Linked DNA regions of Homo sapiens: regions 1 and 2 are each linked to region 3. Evidence: promoter capture Hi-C in human tissues and cell types (Jung and others, 2019). All regions are on one chromosome and are shown on one strand. The core of a region is centred on a gene start or on the middle of the fragment in contact, and the rest is flanking DNA. Distances in the headings are between cores, read along the strand shown. Region 1 has its middle 60 kb from the start of SRD5A3. Region 2 has its middle 130 kb from the start of KDR. Region 3 holds the start of KDR (kinase insert domain receptor).

Region 1 (4,598 bases), core at 1,112-3,611, 160 kb after region 3:
AGTATTCTGAAGTTTACTATATGCCTACCTTTACCAGTGAGTTTTATGCTTTAATATATTTTCATATTACTAATTAGCATTCTTTCATTTCAACTTAAAGAACTTCCTTTATCATTCCTCATAAGGCAGGTCTAGTAGTGATGAATTCCCTCAGCTTCTGTTTGTCTGGGAAAATAGCTCTCCTTTATTTCTGAAGGACAGCTATGCCAGGTATAGTGTTCTTGGTTGGCAATTTTTTTCTTTCAGCACTTTGAATATATCATCCCACTCTTACTTGGCCTGCAAGGTTTCTGCCAATAAATTTGCTTATAGCCTTATGGAGGGGGGTTTACTCATATGTTACAAGTTGTTTTTTCTCTTTCTGCTTTCAAGATTATCTTTTTGTCTTTAACTTTTGACAACTTTATTATAATATGTCTTGGTGTAATCTTCTTTGGGTTGATTCTACTGGGGACACTGGAGCTTCATGAACCTGGGTGTTCATATCGCTCCTAAAATTTGGAAAGTTTTAGCCTTCATTTCTTTAAATAAGCCTTCTGCCCTCTTTCCTGCTTCTTTTTTCTGGGACTTCCTAATTGTATATATTGGTTCACTTGATGGTGTCCCATAAATTTGCAGAATTTCTTCACTCTTTTTCATTTCTTTTTTCCCCCCTTCTGACTGGGTAATTTCAAATGACCTACCTTGAAGTTTACAAATTCTTTCTTCTGTTTGATCAAGTCTGCTGTTGAAGCTCTCTATTGCTCTTTTCATTTCACTCATTGTATTTTTCAGCTCCAGAATTTAATTTTTTTTTTTTACATTTCTCTTTGCTCATCTTCTAGCTTTGTTCGTGTATTGTTTTCCTGAATTTACTGAGTTTTCTGTTTTATTTTGTAGTTTGCTGAGCTTCCTTAAAACAAGTATTTTGAATTCTTCATCAGGTAATGTCTAGATATCCATTTATTTGGGGTTGGTTACTGAAAAATTACTGTGCTGTTTGGTGATGTCGTGCTTCCTTGATTTTTTGTTTTTGTGTTTCTTGAAGTCTTACATTGCTCTCTTTACATGTGAAGAAGCAGTGACATCCTTCAGTCTTTGCTGGCTGACTTCAGGATAGAAGGACCTGCACCAGTCAGCCCAGCTAGGAATTCTGGGGTCACTCAGACCTTTTTTATGGATGTACCTGCTTCACTTCTCTTGCCCCTATTTGGTTGGTGGGGTGGGGGGTGGGTCTTAGAATTGTATGTCTTCTTTTGGTCCCACAAAGGCAGGCCAGGTGCAGTGAGCCTCCCATTTATTTTCCCTGGGGCAGTTCCCTGAAGTGTTTAAGATCAAACACCTTTACACCTTCTGCCAATCCTGCAGAGTTGATCTGGCTGTCTGCATGTGTTTGTGCATAATTTGCAGAGACTCACATGCACCATCTGTAAGGGCATGCATGAGATGCCAGCTACAGGAGTGGGGGGCTTGGAGTGCTGGGGATGCATGTTGGCCAGTTAGGGGAGCTGCAGGTGATGTGTTCTATGAGGTTTGTGGGCAGTCCTCTTAGTGAAGTTCTTGAGGCAGTTAGTAGAAACCATGGCCCTTTGTTGAATTCCACTCCCCACTTGTTGTGAGCCCCCACCTTTTTCCTCTGCTCCTTGCTATCCCATGATTATTCAGCTATGCTGATATTCCCAGTGATCTGAGTGGAACAAGACGGAAGTGTGGCCCTGAGCATCATCCTGCATGGTTGGGGAAGCCAGTTCTCACTATGCTGTCACATTCCCCTGTTGGAGAAATTGCAGGCTGAAGGAGTTTCTCTTGGCACCAAGGTGTGCCACATTGGATAGATGATGTGGGTAAAGTGTTCAAAACTGTTTTTCTTAGCCTCTTCAATACATCTATTCTTGATTTTTTGTTTGTTTGTTCCAACAGGCACAGGGATTTCTCCATTGGACTCCTCTACTGGACTCTTGAGTACTCTCATCCACGGGTGATTGTCAGAATAAGTGTTTCTATGGGGAGCATGACGGCTGAAAACTCCTATTCCTATCTTACTTGTATTACCTCAAAGCCTTCCAATTTTAGAGAAAAAAATATTTTCAACCTAGAATTTTATACCTAGTCAAATAATCAATCAGAAAAGAAAAAATAAAAGCCTTATTTGATCATCCAAAAATATATCAAGGAAAAGAGTCACTTTTTCTTAAGAAGTTACAGGAAGACATCCTCCAGCCCAAAAAAGGAATAAAAAAGAAACGAAGGTTTAAATTTGTTTTTGAAATTGAATATAGAGATACAACTGTATCTAGAGGAGAATAAGGGTGGATGAGGTAAGAATATGAGTGAGCTAAATTATCAACAGAAAATGTCTAAATTGGATAAATTAAGAACTAATTCTGTAAATACATTTTCTAGATTTATGGATAGATATCCCAAAAGAACACAAGGAAACTGTTGAAATTGATTGCTTCTGGAGAATGAATGTGGAGTAGAGATCAGTGGAGCTAGGGACTATGACTTTTTATTACAAGCTCCTTGTTCTACTTTGTTTTTAAGCACATATATCAATTACTTTCATTTAATTATTTTTGTTTTAAATACTTTTAAAGATTTAACAATACCTCAAATTATGAACGTCATTTATCAATGTGCAGACACATGATTGAAGTACAAGTTAATAAGTCATTAATATAATTAGAATGTCTCAGTTTTTTTAACTCTAAAATGAAGATATTAATGCCTACATCATGGGAATGTTATGATAATGTATGAATAGAAATTAGCATAATGCCTGACACATCATCAGGTCTCCAAGAATGATAGTTATTGTTACTGGAAGACAGAAGATATGCTTGGTGATTCAGAGCCTAGCTCTGCCACTTACTACAAGCTGTGCAAGCTTGAATAAATCTTATTTTCCTCACCTGTAACTTGAGAATAATAGTAGCCTTGCCTTTAAATAAGTTAAAGCATATAAAATGCTTATCACATCTCCTGTACTTAGTAAATACTTAATAAATGGTAGATATTATTATTAAATAAATTGTAATTGTAATTGTTTTATTTTGATAGTTTTCCTGATTAGATATGTCTTAAGTGACAGGGCACATACAGATTCATTCAGATCCACCAGAAAGGAACTCCTGTCTAGATTTTCTTTACACCCTACTCTACTTTTTAGTGTGGCTAAAAGTGTGGCTCCTGAGCATCATCCTGTATGGTTGGGGAAACTTTTAATATTCTATTTATGAGTGTTTCTAATCCCAAATTTAACAATGAACCAAAGAGAAAACCAAGTAAATTCTTTCCTGAGTACCCCTGTGGGCCCCAGAGGTGAAGAGGAGGAGGAAGGAAGAAAAAAAAGAATCTATATTGCAACTTCTGTTATCAAGGATAGAAAAGCGGGATTGTAATAGGTAAAAAGTGCTTTTTTTTAAGTGCATTAGTGTTTAGTGGGAAATACTGCTCAAATACATGTTATACAAAGTTATTTCATAAATAATACCAGAGAATGTATTATTAATAGAGTCCAAGATAACTTGCAAAAAAATCAGTGGACATTTTTCCTTATCTTCAGAGCAGGGTTTTTCCTGAGTGATCCAAAACGAGAAACATTTATCCTCTGTGAGAGAAGCATGCATAGGATTATTAACCAAAGGCAAGAGAATAAGGGCACAGACATTGTATGCGTGTTCTGTGCCAGACACATATAGTTAACTCATTGAGTGCTCACAAAAAAAACCCTTGATGGGCGTATGTTTGACCAATGAGGTAAATAAGGCTCAGAGACATCAAGTAACTTGTCCAAATGTATGCGGCTGGTAAAGGGTAGGGCAGAGATTTGAACCCATGACTCCAAAGTCTGTGCTCTTTCCATCAGACCTCCCTGGATGTCAGCCAGTCCACCACTGCCTGCTAGAGTGCCCTGGTTGGGGAATCTGGAGACGAAGGTTTAATTCCTGGTTTGACCACTGAATAATTTAGGCCAATTTACCCTTTTAAGGGTTTTACTGACTCTACTCAAAATATAAGAAAGAATAAATTCATGTTTATAATGTACTATGTAAAGCCTAAATATACTTTTCTTTTTAAAATATTCTTATACACAAATAAAAATTATACTCTCAAAAAGGAGTTTAGGAGCCCAAATTAAGGTCAGATTTCAATGTCTCCATTTCTTAACTAACCAGACACCAAATAATGTCTTTCCAAACAGCATAGATAATATTTTCTTGGAGCCTGGAAAATAAATGTCAATACTTGTGGTAGTTTCTGAAAATTTAAAAGTGCTAGCCCCAGTAAATATATACTGGGGAAGAAGGCAATATAACCCAGGCCAATAAATATTCATCAAAAATGCTCACAGAGAAAATATGTGGGAATATGAATGTTTTGATTCAGAAGAAGAAAGTAACTTGATGCTAAGATCAAGCTGGGATAAGACTTTAGCTTAGGCCTTGCCTGGCTGCCTATGATGGCTGGTGCTGCTCACTATTACCTGAGAAGTCTGGGTCAGGCACAAAACTCATATACTTCTAGTGGGATGGAAATGCACTCCACAGATCTAAAACAGCCTTCTTTTTACTACCATAATAAATTGGAGGCCAGACATGGTGGCCCAGCCCTGTAAT
Region 2 (4,658 bases), core at 1,865-4,364, 130 kb before region 3:
CCCTCATAGCCCTCGCTCACTCTTGGCACCTCCTTGGCCTTGGCACCCACTCTGCCCACACTTGAGGAGCCCTTCAGCCCACCGCTGCACTGTGGGAGCCCCTTTCTGGGCTGGCCAAGGCCGGAGCCGGCTCCCTCAGCTTGTGGGGAGGTGTGGAGGGAGAAGCGCGGCGGGAACCGGGGCTGCGGGCCACACTTGCAGGCCAGCGCGAGTTCCAGGTGGGCGTGGGCTAGGCAGGCCCTGCACTCGGAGCGGCCAGCTGGCCCACTGCCCCAGGCAGTGAGGGGCTTAGCACCTGGGCCAGCAGCTGCTGTGCTCCACTTCTCGCCAGGTCTTAGCTGCCTCCCCACAGGGCAGGGCTCGGGACCTGCAGCCTGCCATGCCTGAACCTCCCCCGGCCCGCCGTGGGCTCCTGCACGGCCCGAGCCTCCCCGACTAGTGCCGACCCTGCTTCACAGTGCCCAGTCCCATCGACCGCCCAAGGGCTGAGAAGTGCGGGCCCACGGCGTGGGACTGGCAGGCACCTCCACCTGTGGCCCCGGTGCAGGATCCACTGGGTGAAGCCAGCTGGGCTCCTGAGTCTGGTGGGGACTTGGAGAAGCTTTATGTCTAGCTAAGGGATTGTAAATACACCAATCGGCACTCTGTATCTAGCTCAAGGTTTGTAAACACACCAATCAGCCCCCTGTGTCTAGCTCAGGGTTTGTGAATGCACCAATCCACACTCTGTATCTAGCTACTGTGGTGGGGACTTGGAGAACCTATGTGTTGATACTCCATATCTAGCTAATCTAGCGGGGACATGGAGAACTTTTGTGTCTAGCTCAGAGATTGTAAACGCACCAATCAGCACCCTGTCAAAACGGACCAATCAGCTCTCTGTAAAATGGACCAATCAGCTAATCAGCTCTCTGTAAAATGGACCAGTCAGCAGGATGTGGGTGGGGCCAGATAAGAGAATAAAAGCAGGCTGCCCCAGTCAGCAGGGACAATTTGCTCAGGTCCCCTTCCACGCTGTGGAAGCTTTGTTCTTTTGCTCTTTGCAATAAATTTTGGTGTTGCTCACTCTTTGGGTCCACACTGCCTTTATGAGCTGTAACACTCACCACGAAGGTCTGCAGCTTCACTCCTGAAGCCAGCGAGACCACGAACCCACCAGAAGGAAGAAACTCCGAACACATCCGAGCATCAGAAGGAACAAACTCTGGACACGCTGCTTTTAAGAACTGTGACACTCACCGCTAGGGTCCGCGGCTTCATTCTCGAAGTTGGTGAGGCCAAGAACCCACCAATTCTGGACACACAATGTCTAAAGATCATTAATTGTATTATTCACATGTTCTAAAGCTCTGATTATTTTTTGTGTGTTTGATCTATCATTTTTGCGAGGGAAATATTAACACTTCCAATTATAATAGTTGACTTAGTAATTCTCCCTAAACTTTTTCAAGTTGTTGCATAGTATTTCTTGAGGTTATATAGTTTACTTCATAGGTATTTATGTGGTTTATTAATGTTTACATGTTATTACTCCATATTCTTTTATCCAAGATACATCCTCTTTGTGTCTTATGACATATTTTACCTTGAATTCTGCTTTTTCAGATATTATAATACCACTCCATCTAATTTGATTCATGTTTTATCTAATATAGCTTATTACATCCTTTTATTTTCAAATTTTTGATATCCTATTTCAGTGTGTTTCTTACAGACTGCAAATTGTTATAATCTTTTTATTATTCTGAAATTCTCTCTTTATATTGATAAAATTAAACCATTTGTATTCATTATAATAATTTTAATACTATAACATTTCTGCCTTATTTTATGTTTTCAATTTATTGTATTTTTTATGATGTGTGCTTCTTTTCTCTTTTCTCGCCTTTTCTCCTTTCTTTAAAAAGTACACATTCTTTTTTTAAAATATAAATTTTTTAGGTTTATGATGTTTGACTTTAAACTAAGGCCCATTTTGTGTTTATTTCTATTAATTTCCCAATTACTCGTATATCTCAATATCCTTTGAGACATCATTAGCTTCTTTCATTTCTTATTTTTAAATGCTGCAGTGCTCCAAGACCCAGTCCTCATTCTTCTCCATCCTTACTCAGTTCCTAGGAAATCCTATTCAGTCCAATGGCTTTAAATATTAATTATATACTGATGAATTCCACATCGTTACCAGGCCTCCAAACCTGTGTATACAACTTCTTCTTCAGTATCTCTGCTTTAATGTTCACTGTGGACCTCAAATTTAACCTGCCCAAAGTAGAAGGTTCATTTACTTCAAGGTTGTATAATTGTGGTCTCCTACAGTATCTCCAAAATCCTAGGGGTTTTCTTTGGTTTCTCGTTGTCTACTACTTCACATTAAAATCTTCAACAAGACTACCATCTTTATGTTAAATTATATTCCCAATCTGCCCACTTTTGTCACCTCCACAGCTATCACCCTCGTCCATATCACTATCATCTCTCACCTGGATCATTGTAATTACCTACTAACTGTCCTCACTGTCACCTCATTTCCACTATTGCCTAACACCCCCCAACCGCCACCTCCATAATATATTTATCTCCACAAAGATCTATTTTTAACAGAGAAAATAACACTGCTCCCATACTCAGAGTCTTCTGCTGACTTCCCATCACGATTACATCCAAACTCCTTACCATAGCCTGTTAGGAAAGTGGACATATAATTTATCCATCCAAACCAGGCAGTGTTGAGACTGAAAGAGGCTCTATTAGTAAAGACACCGGGAACAATGACAACTTTACAACTTGATTCCTCCCCTACTCCCTCAGCTCCAACATGCTGCTCTGTTTAATCGTTCCCACAACAAGGTCTTTCATGAGCAAAAATTCAACAAGGATGTATCAAATGCGGAGTATGTGAGGATGCAACAGTGAACACAACAAAGTTTCTCATTTCATGGAGTTCACATTCTAAAAGCTTCTTCCATTTGGAAGACATCCTCCAGATTCTCACACAGCTTAAGCATTCATATTATCCAAATATCTGGTCAAATGTCCCTTTTTAGAAAGATATTCCCAGGATATCCTGCTGCAATAGCCTGACTAACCATCCCATCAATCTCTATCACTAACCCTGATTTATGCTTTTCATGTTTCACCTGAAATTATATTATTCCATTAATTGTTTTCTTATAGCCCGTGTACTATTAATAGTTTGTTCTTGTACTACTATAAAGAAATATGCGAGACTGGGTAATTTACAAAGAAAAGAGGTTTAATTGACTCACAGTTCTGCAGGCTGTACAGGTTGGGGAGGCCTTAGGAAACTTTCAATCATGGCGGAAGGTGAAGGAGAACCAGGCACATCTTACATGGCTGGAGTAGGAGGGAAGAGAGATAGGGGGAGATGCCACACACTTTTAAACAACCAGATCTCCTGAGAACTCACTCACTATCATGAGAACAGCAAGGGGGAAATCCACCTCCATGATCAAATCCTCTCCCACCAGGCCCTACCTCCAATATAGGGGGTTATAATTCAAATGAGATTTGGGTGGGGACACAAATCCAAACCATACCAGCCTGTCTGTCCCTTAGAATGTAAGCTTCAAGAGGACAAGGATGTGGCCTGCCTTAGTCACTGCTGTATCCCCAGCTCCTAGAACATTCCTAAACCATCAATATGTATTGAATAAATAAATAATGAATAGTTCATTGGGGACATTAAATTTATATGAAACTTTCCCTTTGGGAACATTTAACTATGTTATTCAATAATATTTAATAACAGCCAATTCCCCAGAGGTATCTACAGAGAATATCTCTATCACAATCATTTTTCTTGAAACAACTTTTTCCATGCATTCATTTCATATAAATGGCTGTTCTCTCTGCACTGAAAGTTGAACAAGACAAATAGAATTCACGTATAAATCTGAATTCTCTTAGCATCGCTGAAACCCAGACGAAAAGCACATGTGTGAAGAAGCTGGTGAGGCTTTCCCTTTCATGGGTCTTCTATGGCATATATTTATCCACCAGTCTCCTGAATGAAAGGCTGCACTTTTTAAATTCCAAACTAAGCACTTCAAAGGAAGAGCCTCCTGCTTTCCTAAATATGCTTAGTGCAAAAGATTGCATTGCAAGGGCTATCTGGGGGCATTTCTACCTGTGGCCAAAATCCAAATGTCTTGAGGTTTTTTTTTTTTTTTTCAGATTATTGTTTATATGCTTCAGATTGTTTATATGCTGCATATATGTTTATATGCAGATAAGCATATGAGAGAGAATGGGCTATAATTATTAAATAATGAAAACAATTTTTCCACACAACTTATGAATATCATCCTCATGAAGATTGGCTAATCAAATGTTTCTCCCTGCATTCTGCCAAGAATTTAATTAAAAATGGCTTTGATGGTGTGTATCCAAGGAAAACTAATTCCTGGTTTTAACTAAGGAATAAATGAATACTTAAAGCAGGTTGCTATGATGGACCAGGAGTGCACAAGTAGAGTTTTGTTTTGTTTTGTTTTGTTTTTTGTTTTTGTTTTTGTTTTTTTGAGATGGAGTTTTGCTTTTGTTGCCCAGGCTGGAGTGCAATGGCACAGTCTCGACTCACTGCAACCTCCACCTCCTGGGTTCAAGCGATTCTCTTGCCTCAGCCTTCCAAGTAG
Region 3 (4,743 bases), core at 1,480-3,979:
TGGACAGTTGCTGGTCTGGGTGGTCATGTTTAATTAATTTGCACAGTACTTTGTGCGTGGAACGGGGGTTACATTTATGTTTTAAATAGAGAATGGGGTCTCGCTATGTTGCCCAGGCACTTCTTGAACTCCTGGACTCAAGCGATCCTCCTGCCTCTGCTTCCCTAAGTGCTGGGATTACAGGAATGAGCCACTGCACCCAGCCTGCACAGTACTTTTTAATATGAAAGAAATAACTGCCCCCAAAACAGGCAAACAAAAAACCAAAATGTTTAAAAGCAAAATGAAACCTGGAGTCCCACTTTGTCTAAGAAAAGGAAAATGAAAACAATTCATTTGGATAACACAGATTTCAAACTTGACTGGGGAACACTAGGTTGAGAAAGATGCTGAAAACATGATGTACAATTCACACTGCCATCCAAATGAGAAAAAAACCATTATTTGGGCACATTCTTGTGAGAAAACAAATGGCAGTAAAAATGATTCTCAATAAACTGTGCCCACTCGGCTACCAAAATCAGAAACTCTTGAAGGTCTCTCATAATTTATTGCCACAGATCACATTCTAGACACACTTTCCTGTGTAACAAATATTTTAAAAAAGAAAAGGTATGTCCTTCATTCATAGGAAGCTGAGACTATGCCATACTATTCTAGAGACACGTTTACAACAAAAATCTATTCAACAAGGCTCTCAATAACTTCAAATTCATATTTGTAGACCAACATAGTTTTTTGTTTTTTGTTTTTGCTCCATTAAATGTCATTCGTTTTCATTGGCAAGCTTGAGCTGGACTCTTCAGAAAGTTCTAAAGAAATAACTGTAAGAGGTACACATGCTACTACTCAATAAAAAGCCCTTCTATGTTCAAATCCCATAACCAATATTAATTAATTTGTGCACTGTTACCCTTCCAGCTCAAAGACGGGAAGGAAAAACAACAGTGCCTCTGTCTCTAGAATTTGATGGCACCAATTACAGCCCAATCCAATTAAGCAAGTAATGCACTCCAAAAGGGCAAGTTCACCATTATATTCAGGGCGACCGGCCTGCCGTTACTACTACGCTAGGAAACACCCCAGGCTTAAAAGCAACTCACTTCTTTGTGGAATACAGAGCAACCACATGTTCCAGACCTTCATTCTCTGCCCAGAAAGGGGGAGAGAGAGGGCTTGTCTGGGACAAATGAGTGTCCATGGTGGACTGGACCCGTTGAACCAAGTCATTATAAAGAAAATTCAGTAACCATGGACAGATGATCCTGGTACTGTATGTGGGTGTGAGTGTCTTCTAAGACATGTGATTCTTGTCTTAGGGAGTAAGAAATTTTTTTCCCTGAATTATTCGACTTTTTTTTTTTCTTTCTCTGACCCTTTCCCCTTTCTCACCCTGCAAAGGGTGGAAATCTGGATATCAGCAAACTGGCTGCAGGAAAGAAATATTATCTAAGGGGTTGAGAGAGAAAGGAAAGTGAGGAAGAAAAGACAGACAGCTATTGCATGAAGAACGTGTGTGTTCCTAATTGAAGGAGACGGAAATTTTAGGCGGCAGGGAGAGGAAGGAATGGCACTAAAGCTAGGTACCAAGGCCCACAGGAAAGGTTTTCGGAGCTTGAACTTCTGACTATGCGCTTACACCAAGGACCACAGCGCTTTGAAAGATGTGCAATGCTTTACGCAGGACAGTTGGCTGTTACTTGGAGACCCTTGGGGAAGCTGTCAAAGCCCCCAGGACAAGTCCCTATTCCCCCCCTTCTTCGCTCTGCAAGGAGAGCGGCGTCCTGCACCAAGGAAGGAAAAAAAGTTTCTCTCCGCTCCAGACCCCACTTCACACAGTGGTGTGCAAGTGTGTTCGAGCATGAAGACAACAACGGGCCGGGTCCCGCAAAGAGGCAGAACCGAGTGTACCGTCCGATCCGGGAGACCCGGCCTGAGATTCCGGCAAGGTTTTCTTCCCCGGGCCCGGACTAGGATGTTGCGCGCAGCCAGACAACTTTTCACCGCCTGTTCTCGCCTGCGGAGGCACCTCCTGCCTGCCAACCCCAGGCGCCTTCCCACCCCAGCCTCCCAAGAGCCTGAGGGTGTGTCGGCATCTCAGGACATGCTCCAGCCGAGGTCCCTGTCGCAAACCAGAGTCCTAGAAAAGGAACTGGGCTAGAGCACAGGCGACCACAGACTCGCTGGGTAATCTTGGGCCAGTCTCTGAGCCTCAGTTTCCCCACTGGTAAATGAAAGATCGCAAAATGTCAAGTCCTGTCCAACTCTCCAGCTCTACGATTCCGAGTTAGATCTGGCTTTCAGGTCCTCTCCGCCCTCACCCGACCTGTCTGCCTTCCTCCTCCAGAGTGGGCTCCTTACCCACAGAGGCGGCCCGGGTCTCCACGCAGAGCCACAGGGCGACGGCCAGCAGCACCTTGCTCTGCATCCTGCACCTCGAGCCGGGCGAAATGCCCAGAACTCGGGAGCCGGTTCTTTCTCCCAGCGCCTGTCTAGAGAAGGAGGCGCGGAGGTGGAACTCGCGGCACCCCGCAGCGCAGGACAGTTGAGCGCACAGGGCTAGGGAGCCCGGGCGCCGACCGCGGCTGCAGGGGCGTCTGCGGGTGCCGGTAGGAGAGGATATCCAGGCTGCCAGACGGACTTTCTGCGGCGCGCAAGTGATGCCCGGCGCAGGCAGAGGAAACGCAGCGACCACACATTGACCGCTCTCCCGGGGTCCCGGGACTCAGTGCAGGGTGGGAGCTGGTGCCGAAACTCTAGAGCGCGGAGGCGGGGCCATGCGGGGCGGGGCCGGAGCGGAGGAGGGGCTCTCCCGTGCGGCCAGCCCCGCCCCTCACCCGGGTACCCGGCGGCGATCTCCAGCTCCCCAAGCCCATTTACATCTCCCCATTTCCCCACACAACTGGACTGCGCTGGGCCCCAAGTCGCCCAGGAGAGAACATCCCAGAGCAACAACTTTGTTTCTGGTGTAAATAAAAAGTACTCGGTAACGGGCGCTGAGCAACTCCAAGATTTAATCGCTTGCCGGTCCCCGAAATTTGGGGAGCATCACCAGGAGCGCTGCGAAGAGCAGCGCTCCCTCACCAGGCGCGTCAAAGTGCAGGACCCTCTTCGCCATCGCGCGCGTCTGAAGTGGCCGAGAATCTGCAGCAGTTTGGAGCCACAAGGGAGAAGCGGATACTCAGCCAAGTATGCCGGGTCGCAAGCTGGCAGCGACTCCTGCCAGTAGTTTTGGTTTTTGTATAAGGGTATTTTGTTTGGCCAGTATAATTGTAGTTTAAAAAGCTGAATCTGGTTGCTCTTAATCAGAAAACGCACTTGCCCAGTTCGCCAACATTCCCGCTATTTCCCAAAATATTTGGCGGCTCCAAGTTTGAAGTGACCTGCCTAGCCCCAAGAAGGCTTTTGTCCATCGTGCTCCCCAACGAAGAGCCCTAGTGAAAGTTTGGCCATGCCCCTTTTCAGAGCAGAGCTTCCAGCCAAGATATCCTTAGTCCCAGGGGAAGGAGGCCAGCTGCCAGCGTGCTTCAGTGGAGGAGCAATGAAGCAAAAGCACCTAGGACACTCTGTGACCAAATTGCACAACTGTCTCCACGTGTGTGGACTTCTTGTGGCAGCTGTTTGGAGGGGAACTCCAATTCCTTCCTGACCACATTCGTTCCTTCTGGTTTTCTGTCCATATCTCCCCACACCTGGGGAGTGACATCAAATGTCCCCTAACTTCATTAAATATGAATCTTCCAGATGCCTATGTCTTTTACCTCCCAGAGGTGCTTTTTAATGACAACCTAAAGGACCATTCTTCACCAAGATAAACACACAGAATTATTATATCTACACCTAATTCAAACTAGATTGATTGTATACAATTAATGTAACCTGTTACTTATCTTCATCTGTTTTTAAATATTTACTGTATTCACGCTTTTACTTTTCCAAGTTGACAGGTGAAATATTTTAATGCTGAAATATAATGAATGTATATGGCAAAAAAAAATTTTGGAAAAACACAAAAAGGCTTAGAGTGAAAAGACTTTTCTTTTGGCAGAGGCATTTTTATGTTTCCTTTTTTTTCCAAGCAGATTCTTAAACACAAGTATGTAGACATGTCACCCTTCTCTTCCCACAATTGCTTGGTATAAATGCTATTTGAGCCTTGGCTTTTTTCCCTTTAAATTTGATTTATTTATTTGAGACAAGGTCTCACTATGTTGCCCAGGCTGGTCTCCAATGCCTGGACTCAGTCCATCCTCCTGCCTCAGTCTCCCAAAGTGCTGGGATTACAAGCACGAGCCACCCTGCCCAGCCTTCACTTTATAATATACACTGGAGATTCGTTCTACATCAACCTTTAAAGCTCCATCTTTTATTTATTTATTTATTTATTTATTTATTTATTTATTTTTATATAGAGGCAGGGTCTCACTATGTTGCCTAAGCTGGCTGCGAACAAAGCTCCATCCTTCCATCTTTTCAATGTTGGCATAGTGCTCTACTATATAGATGTACTCATATTTATCTGGGAGGTATTTATTTGGGGAGGGGAGAGAATCTTTAAAGAAACTCCTCTCTTCCTGCTAGTAAACTCAGCAAATAAAATAGGATGGACTCTGGCAAAGTTGGATAAAGGGGTGGGAGATGGAACCTGGTTTGGAGAGGGCAGTTTTTCTCCATCCCCATCACCAAACAATTCCCTATCAGCCTTATTTACAGTTCATGACACTTCCTCTTCCATGTCTCATT

The links. Contacts are between HindIII fragments. The study calls those that stand out against the background at their distance.
Region 1: a fragment that was not itself captured here is called in contact with the fragment with the promoter of KDR in region 3 in 2 of the 25 tissues and cell types used here (H1 embryonic stem cells and IMR-90 fibroblasts).
Region 2: a contact is called between a fragment that was not itself captured here and the fragment with the promoter of KDR in region 3, in 1 of the 25 tissues and cell types used here (H1 embryonic stem cells).

The regions. Positions count from the first base shown.
Region 1 is chr4:55,283,787-55,288,384 of GRCh38, forward strand. No RefSeq gene overlaps it. Among named protein-coding and RNA genes, the nearest start is that of SRD5A3, 60 kb to the right of the region's middle. The HindIII fragment of the contact is 3,115 bases long and covers 805-3,919 here.
Region 2 is chr4:54,993,358-54,998,015 of GRCh38, forward strand. No RefSeq gene overlaps it. Among named protein-coding and RNA genes, the nearest start is that of KDR, 130 kb to the right of the region's middle. The HindIII fragment of the contact is 4,605 bases long and covers 813-4,658 here.
Region 3 is chr4:55,122,866-55,127,608 of GRCh38, forward strand. KDR (kinase insert domain receptor) reads right to left here and starts at 2,730. Exons shown (of 30, transcript NM_002253.4): 1 at 2,362-2,730. The coding sequence starts at 2,428. The HindIII fragment of the contact is 13,799 bases long and covers 151-4,743 here.